Linked DNA regions of Homo sapiens: region 2 is linked to region 1. Evidence: promoter capture Hi-C in 16 types of primary human blood cells and fetal thymus (Javierre and others, 2016). All regions are on one chromosome and are shown on one strand. The core of a region is centred on a gene start or on the middle of the fragment in contact, and the rest is flanking DNA. Distances in the headings are between cores, read along the strand shown. Region 1 holds the start of SALL3 (spalt like transcription factor 3). Region 2 has its middle 220 kb from the start of LINC01029.

The links. Contacts are between HindIII fragments. The CHiCAGO score rates a contact against its expected background, and 5 or more counts as called.
Region 2: a contact is called between a fragment that was not itself captured here and the fragment with the promoter of SALL3 in region 1, in 1 of 17 cell types (endothelial precursors). The highest score is 5.8, in endothelial precursors.

Annotation. Positions count from the first base shown.
Region 1 is chr18:78,978,442-78,983,060 of GRCh38, forward strand. SALL3 (spalt like transcription factor 3) reads left to right here and starts at 1,377. Exons shown (of 3, transcript NM_171999.4): 1 at 1,377-1,915. The coding sequence starts at 1,834. LINC01896 (long intergenic non-protein coding RNA 1896) reads right to left here and starts at 1,250. Exons shown (of 5, transcript NR_187297.1): 1 at 599-1,250; 2 at 22-297. RefSeq lists an enhancer at 2,794-3,623. The HindIII fragment of the contact is 14,735 bases long and covers 1-3,492 here.
Region 2 is chr18:77,767,979-77,772,281 of GRCh38, forward strand. No RefSeq gene overlaps it. Among named protein-coding and RNA genes, the nearest start is that of LINC01029, 220 kb to the right of the region's middle. RefSeq lists a silencer at 4,182-4,303. The HindIII fragment of the contact is 3,308 bases long and covers 1-3,162 here.

The DNA.
Region 1 (4,619 bases), core at 127-2,626:
CTCTGACTTCGTCAAACTTACACAATTAAAGGCAGGCGGAAGAACGCGGGCTGGGAAGCAAGCGGGAAGATTCTAGAATGGAAGGGAGCCCGCCGAGCGCCGCGAGCCGCGCCAGGCCGGGTCCGATGGAGCAGGCGGGGATTCCTCCCCCAGGCGGACCCCCGCCACCAGCCCTGCCGGGAGCTCGCGGCCTGCGGAGCGCCCGGGCTGGCCGCTCACCGCCCGCTTCCCCCAGCGAACGACTCGGGGAAGCTCCAGGAGGCCATCTGTGCTGACGGTTCACACCAGACAGGACCACTTGCAAGGACAAAAATAAGAAATTTAGGAAACGAAAAAAGACGTACTGGGGCGAGGGGCGCGGGCGCGGCGACGACGGGGCCGGGGGCACATCCTGGCGGCCGCTCGGGGAGAGAGGACACGCGCGGGAAGGAGCGCGGCGGGTGCACGGCCGCGGGTGGGAGTACGCGCCTGTGCGCGCGGGGCGAGGGCGAGGGCGCGTGCGTGTGACCGCGGGGAGGGGGCGGGCGCGTGTGCGGGGAGCGCGCCGCGCCAGGGGCCGAGTGTGTGGGGCCGATCCAGAAGTGCGCAGCCCCCTCACCTGGCCCCCGTGTCATCCCCGAAATCCCGGGAAAGGGTGGGCCGCGCGCGGGAGTTTGGTGGAGTTGGAACTTTCGGTCGCGCTCGCTGCCCACTCCGCTGGCGCCCGGTGGCCCGTGGTGAAGGGGGACTAGGGTGGGGAACACCGGGGCCCTGCGGTCCCCTCCCTTTCCTGTATTTAAGAAGCCGCCGGCGGCGCAGAGGCCCAGGCGGGCTGGCGCGGGGGCGAGGCGGCCCGGTGGCAGCAGCGGGCGGGGCGGGCGCTCCGGAGTCGGTGGGGCCCGCGGGTTGGGGGGCGGGGAGAGGGGGGAGTGGAAGGGAGGGGGAACGCAGGGGAGGGAGAGGAGGGGAGGAGCCGCGCGGCCCGCGCCGCTTCCGAACCGGAAAGTTGGTCTTGCCGAAGTCCTGCCACCCCGGCGTGCGCACTCCGCTCCGCTCCGGCCGCGAGCCTCCGAGCCCGGCCGGCCGCCGGGGGAAGCCCGCGGAGGGGACGCGGGGCCGGGCGAGAAGGTCCGGAGAGCGGGGGGCACCTGAGCCCGGGCGGGCCCGCCGCGCTGAGCGGCGCTGAGAGCCGCGGCGGAGCAGCGAAGGCGGCCGGCCGACCCCGCGCGCCCGGAACAGGAGGCGCGGCGCCCGAGCGGCCCGGGCGAGACAAAGGCGCCGGGTCGGAGCCCTGCCCGCGGCCGCTCGCTCCGGGAGGGGCCGCCCGGCGGCGGCGGCGGGGGGGGCGCGGGCGGCGGCGCAGACACTCTATAAAGGGGCGAGCCCGGCGCGCCGGCGGAGACGGCGCCGCGCGGACGCCGCCAAAGTTTGCTGCCTGCGCCCTGCGGAGGGACGGCCACCGCGGCCCGCGCCGCACCCGGGCCCCGCCACAGCCGCACCCGGGGCGGCCGAGGAGCGCGGCGCCGGAGCCCGCGATGTGAGGCGGCGCCGGGCAGCGCGCGCCCCGGTCCCGAGGCGCCGCGGCCCCCTCCTCGTCGGCGCGGCCGCTAATTGCGAGCGCGGCCTCATTTGCATAGGCCGCCGGAGTCCGCTGGAGCCCGGCCAATCGGCGCGGCCCTCCGCTAATGGCCATGCATTATTCACCAGCCTAATTGCTCAGCCCCATGCGCGGCCCGCGCAGCCGCCGCCGCCCCGCGCCCCGCGCCGCGCGCCCGCCAGGCCGCCCCGCGCCGTCCCCGCCGGCCGCCCCGCTGATGCCGCTGCCCCGCGCGGGGCCCGAGCGCCGCTAGCAGCATGTCTCGGCGCAAGCAGGCCAAGCCCCAGCACCTCAAGTCGGACGAGGAGCTGCTGCCGCCTGACGGGGCTCCCGAGCACGGTGAGGGCCGGGGCTGCGGGGTGGCCGGGGGGTCTGGGGCTGCCCGTCCGGGCTGGGGAAGCGCGTGCGGCGGGAGCGGATGCGCGCGTCCGGGAGCGGGAGAAAGTTCCCTGCTTCCTGCGGGCAAGCGTCCGCCCCGCGCCAGGCCGGCCGCGGGGCCCCGGGTACTTCGCCGGAGCGCGCGCGGCCGCCGAGAGAGTTGTGGGCGAAGTAAACTTGGCTCCTCTCCTCGGAGTCGGGGAGCTGCCCGCGAAGGGCGCCGAGGCCGCGGCCGGCTCGAGGACGGCTCGGAGGCCGGGGCGGGAGGGAGTCCACGGTGCCTCCGCCGCCGCGCCGCCCCCCAGGGTCTCTGCGCCAGGACGCTGAGGCCGGCGGCGGCGGGGAAGGCGACCGCAGCCCACCTACCGCTGGACGCGGGTTGGGGACCCCGCCGCCCGGCCAGCTTTGTTCGGGGGCCCGCGGCCCCTCCCGGGCCCCCGCACCGCCTCGGGTGACCCGCGGTGTCCCAGCGCGTTGACGCAGCCTGTGATCCCTCGCGAGGCGAGGAGAAGGTCGGGGGCTTGGCTCTGCCTAATGGCCGCCCGGGGAATTAAGCTGGGGGTGAGCGCAGCGGCGGCGGCCTGGGCCTGGCCCCTGCTCGCGGCGTGTTTCCGGGGCGTTCGTTGCAGCGTCTGCGCGGGCCTTTTCTCTCCCGTCTTTTTGGATCCGCCGAGGCCGGGCGCTGGAGACCTCGGCTTTGCAGTCATTTCGCTGGTAGGAGCGTCCTCTTCGAAACATCCAAGAGCAAAGGGCAGGCGCCGCGAAAGTTAAGAGACTGGCAAAGGGCTGGACTTCCCAGAGTGGCGCCTTAGCCCCGCAAAGTTTGGGGCGCCCCCACCCCCTTCGTCGAGTCAAAACCTCGGCCGGCGGCGCCCGGGCTTCGGCGCGCCCCGCGGGGCCCCCAGGGCGCCAGGAAAGAGGGCCGAGGAGGGGCGACCCCACGACCCCGAGCCCGCAGCACAGCTCGCAGTAAAATAATTTGCTCCTTAAAAAAACAGGCAGGCCAACTTTTATGATTGACCTGTTATAAGTTGTTGGAGGCAGATGGTGATCTTTTTACTCTGAGAATGAGACTGTCTGCGAAAAGGAAACGGGGCGGAAGAGTTTCCCACACAGTGGAGTAAAGTTTGACAAAGCGGGTAGACACCCATGTCGGATGAGAACGAGAGAGCATGCTTATGACGCGGCTGGAGAATTAATGAATTAAATAAAATTAGTGAGCTCGCTGGGGTCTTTTTGTTGCGGTGGAGGTAAGGGAGTCTTATCTGTGTAGCCAAGTCAGCCAAGATGAGAACAGGCGATATGCTAAAAAGAAACGCTTGCATATGGTGGGTAGATTAAGGACAAAGAATCTTTTTGTCATGGAAATGGATTTTTTTTTGTTTTGTTTACTTCATCACATAGAATTTCTCACACTTGGTTTGTTTTGTATCGCCCTCAATGACTACATGATCAAATGAATGGATTTATTTCTGCCGAATGAGAAAGACAGTCTTTCCTTCAAAAGAACTACATTGCGTCCCAGTGAGGAATTTTAAAGCTTTATTATTGTGGCTCCTGAATGGCTTAAAATCGGCTTTCACAGCCGCCCCAAAATGCAACAATGTAAATACTTCTCAGCTTTGTAGGGTCGGTATCAAAATGTGCGATGTCTCCTTTTATTAAAGCATATTTTAATTAATAGAGTAAACCCCCTGGTATTTAACAATTAACAAGCTGAGGCACTGCTATTCATTTTTAATTTCACTTCAGAAATGTGAGCATGCTGAACTTAATAGTGTAAACGTGTGGAGGGCTATATCGCCTATATTTGAAAGCCTAAGATGGGATAAATTATTCACAAGTTCTACTTTGAATCCCTCTTGTTGCTGCTCGAATTTATTTAGAGATGCAAAATATTCAGGTTTTTTACCCGTGGTAGAATTGAAGTTCTTGTCAAGCCTGTGTTTTTCACAGCATCCAGAATTGTAATCCAGACGTTGCCACAGTTCCTGGTCATGTTTTGCAAGAGGCCCAAAATACCCTGTGTGGGGCCGAGTCTTGGTCGAGCAGCTCACATGCTTGTTTGAGAGAGTTTAGGCAAACTATTTTTTTTAAGTTCTTTCTCATTTAATTATATTCGAAGCAGCTTGTTCAAGGAGCATAACAGACACTCTGTTCCGTGTTAAGTCAAGGAATGCCCCATTTGTGTATTACTCGGTCGCACTCAGCATCGTTCCTAAGATAACTAAGTAAAAATTATAAAAAGGTAAATGGGTGTGGAAACCAAATTACTCCAACCTGAGTCAGATCTCCTCAAAATTTTAATTTTGTTAAATGCAATGGAAATAAACAGACCGTGCCGGAAGTTGCAAGTGAGCTCAGTTAGTTTAGTGTTTTAGAAACGAGGTAAATAATTCCTTTGTATCACTCGGGGAGTGACATATTAATTAAAGCAGCAGGTCCATCTACATGCAGTAAAATGGAAAGCTACTGATAATGTCCTGCAGAACAAATATTCTATGCAAAAATGTTTAGTATAATGGGGGACAGAGATGCACTCACATTAATTTACAGCACAAAGCCTGTATCTCTTAAAAAAGAATTATGATTTATTTTTGAAGCAATGAAAAGATTCTATACAAAAATAACTGGTGCTACCCAAACCTTACCACTACAGGAATGA
Region 2 (4,303 bases), core at 259-2,758, 1.2 Mb before region 1:
TCAGTAGTATATTGGGAATAGAAGTAGGTCTGGGCAATTGGTTTTCTTTGTTAAATACTCTGAGCTCAATTTTCATGAAGAGGCCCCGAATAAGCTCAGTGGGAGAAGGTGAGGCCTGTCATGACACTAACAAGTGCAATCTTAGCTTTTCTATGTATATGACACAGTATCTGGATAAAATTTTAAAATTTCAGTCAATGAATCTAATGCCTCAAATTACCAAAACATTTGGTTGAGTAGAGATTGCAAGGAGTACCTTGACTGCATTGTTTTGTTTTACATAGGCATTTCACATTTTGCTGTTAAAACTACTTATTTATAAAATAAGTTGAACAATCTTATTTCATTAAATCTACGATATGCTTGCTCTTTGCCTAATTAAATTCTTTTTCTTATGTTTTCTTTTTTAATCTCCTTTCATTCTACCCATGTTGCCCAGAGTAAAGACTCTATGCATTAGATAGGACATTTGGGGGCTTAATCTTCACAAAGTATTTAGCATTAAAATCATGTCGCCCTGAATTCTAAATTATTTTTATCTTCCCTGACATTACAAATTCCCTTTTGAGAAGTATTTTTTGGCAGTGTCTTGTTCCTCATGTCCAGATCCTTAATTGCATGACCATCAGGAAGGTGATATACAGTCTATTTAAAGATCACATGTTGCTGTAAATCTCTGGCACAGTGACGTGGTTTATAAGGCAAATTACAACTCTATCGGACTCCTTTAAAGCGATTAAGATTGTTCTTTTTGTTGACTGTTTTTGGTCACAGTAGGCAATGTTTTTTTTTAAAGGTTACTTTTGATAAAAGGTAAGATGCAATGACAAAAGGTTTCTAAGATTAAGACAAACACATTTTCCTGTGATTTTGGTAAATTTACATAGGAAATAAAAAGGTTCTAAAGGAGATTTTATCTGTAAATCGTGCTCTTGACATCTTGCATTCTATAAATAATGTGGAGCAAAATCAAAGAACTGACTCTCCTTGATATTTGTGCTCCCTAATGGGTTGAGCAATCTCTCTATCTCTAGTTATGATGATGTGGTCATGAGGATGTGGTAATGGTGCTGTGGTGTCATGGTCCTGGTGGCATCGCTGTGGTGGCATGGCTGTGGTGTCATGGTCCTGGTGGCATCGCTGTGGTGGCATGGCTGTGATGGCTTGGTCCTGGTGGCATCGCTGTGGTGGCATGGCTGTGGTGTCATGGTCCTGGTGGCATTGGTGTGGGGGCATGGCTGTGGTGTCATGGTCCTGGTGGCATTGCTGTGGTGGTGTGGCTGTGGTGTCATGGTCCTGGTGGCATTGGTGTGGGGGCATGGCTGTGGTGTCATGGTCCTGGTGGCATTGCTGTGGTGGCATGGCTGTGGTGTCATGGTCCTGGTGGCATCGCTGTGGTGGCATGGCTGTGGTGTCATGGTCCTCGTGGCATTGGTGTGGTGGCATGGCTGTGATGGCTTGGTCCTGGTGGCATCGCTGTGGTGGCATGGCTGTGATGGCTTGGTCCTGGTGGCATTGCTGTGGTGGCATGGCTATGATGGCTTGGTCCTGGTGGCATCGGTGTGATGGCATGGCTGAGATGGCTTGGTCCTGGTGGCATCGCTATGGTGGCATCCCTATTATGTCATGGTCCTGGTGGCATAGCTGTGGTGGCATGGCTGTGGTGTCATGGTCCTGGTGGCATTGGTGTGGTTGCATGGCTGTGATGGCTTGGTCCTGATGGCATCAGTGTGGTGGCATGGCTGTGATGGCTTGGTCTTGGTGGCATCACTGTGGTGGCATGGCTGAGATGGCTTGGTCCTGGTGGCATCACTGTGGTTGATCCCTGTGATGTCAATGTCCTGGTGGCATAGCTGCGGTGGCATGGCTGTGATGTCATGGTCCTGGTGGCATCGCTGTGGTGGCATGGCTGTGATGGAATGGCCATGGTGGAATGGTTTTGGTGGCATAATCCTGATGGCGTGGTCATGGTGGCATTGTCTGGTGATGTGGTCATGATGGTGGGGTCATTTTACAGCCTGATCTCCATCTGCTACTCGCCTCTTTAACCTGCCTTGTTAATTGCTAATAATACAGGCCTGATTTTTCTCAAATGCACATTTTACTGCCCCTGAAAAACCCTAGGCATACTTATTTTTGCTCCCCTCAATGTTACTTTCTGTTCCATAAATCCATAAATGGACCAATCAGAATGCATATTCAGTATCTAGAACTGACAATTGTCTAGATGTGAACAACTAAGGTAACCCCTCGATTGTGTGTGAAATGTATTTACTATCGCTCTAATCTGTATTTGTCACAGTGTTCTCAGCTGGCATGGAGACCACAACAGGCATTCTGTAGGCCCGACAAACACACATTTGTTGCTTCCCAGACCTAAAATGTGTGTCAAGCTCAGTCATGAGACATAGGTAGAAACTGCTTTTTCTGGATTTCCCATAATTCTTCTCCATGACATCTTGGCATTTCTGGGTTATGTATATTTTAAAATCTGGACATTTCCACTGTTAGCTTATATCATACAGGAGATTTTACTTTATGTTGTTACCTATCTAAAAAATAATCCACCTGTTGGATTCTCTATTTTTCTACTTTAAGACCAGAAAATTAATTTAATTAAAAATAGTTAGTTCTTTAAAAAACTCAAACAGTTAACATGTAATTTTTGTCAATAGATGTTTTAAAATCTGGCTTATGATCAAACCAATGAGATAATAGTTGCGATCTTAACAGTTAATAACTTTCAATATTCTGACTTCGAGAGAGAAGATTATAAGTCTAAGATAACAGGTAAATTAATATTGTTTCTGTTCTATTTCATTTGATAGAAAAGGGTAGTGGGAGATGATTTTGGCTAGTTGATATGTTAATAATGACATGTATTTATTTTATAATATGTCTAGACAAAAAGCTATGAGTATGTAGTGTGACACTAAAACCTCAGTTCTTTTCCATTCATGATAACATGTTTTACAAAATTGCTTAATTTTTGTTAATTTTCCATTTCAACTCAAAATGAAAAATTCAATGATAATTGACCAGTTCAGTAAACAATAGGACGGGATTTCAGGACGTTGATCAATACTTGAGAGTCCTCTCCATCAGTTTTCCTGGAACCCCTGTAGAATAACTAATACAATTAGATATTGATGGGATGTCACAAGCTTTTTATGATAGGCAAGGAACTCCAGTATGCAACAGTATTTCCTCAGAGTGTGTGTGTAAGTGCACGCGTTTGCATTACAAGCTAAGACTTCTAGAAAAATAATACCTCATCTGGCCATTTGCTAGCCTCAAATTCCAGTTTTCTCAGAATTTCACTCATTTCCTAGTCACATGGTTCAATAATATAATGAGCATTAGAATTATTGTAGCTTTGCTTTTCATGTTTACCCTCAATTCCCATTTTTCAGGAAAGGCAATTTGGTACCCTGATACAACCACAGGCACCTGTCCAACCCCTCTAAGGAGACTAAGTGTATTGGGGTCTTTTCTCTGATGATCTGTATGGTTCACTCCACAAGCTCAGATCCATTCTGGTCCTTAAGTGTCCATTCTGCACAGCTCAGTTTTCTTTTTTTTAATGTAATATGTCTAAAACTATCGGAGACTCTAACAACTTTAGAAACACACCAGGTTTTCTATGCAGCCTAGGGCTTCCAATTGCAAATATTCAATGAATAATAGGAAAATTTGAGCCTCGCTGAAGGCACATGTCAATATTCTGTGCATCTTGATCGAATGCATTATTGTCTCTTTAGCTGCATGTGTCAGCCGGCTATCTAGAAAGATGGAAACAACTGAGTCCCTGTAGCCAGAGCTTCTTAATGGTCCACGCAAATATGCTTAAGTTTATTTCCTTCATAACTCTTTGAAAAGCTTCTCACCACTCCTTCTGTAAAAAATTGAATACACATAAAACAAACTTCATGTTCACTAAAGTGCATTGAGTTTGAAAGCCAGCAGTGATTTGATTAATGTAGATTGAAAATGAAAATAAGTGTATATATTTTCATACTTAGAAATTTAGAATTCAAGATACTTTCAAGAGAAAAAGAATTCCCGTGTACCTGGTGTCCAGTCTCAAATACCTCAAGTAAGGTTTGCAGCTGACTAACCCCGCCTTCCATAGGTGTGTCTGCGTGGACGTGAAAGTAGCGTTACCTTTGTGGGGTCTCTCAGCAGGCTGCTGCACATTCGTTTCCAAAGCTAGCATCACCAGAACTGAAGTCCCAGCAAGGACATACCTCATGACTTTGTGGATGTTAACCACAACCTTACGGTGGCAGCATGCATGCACACT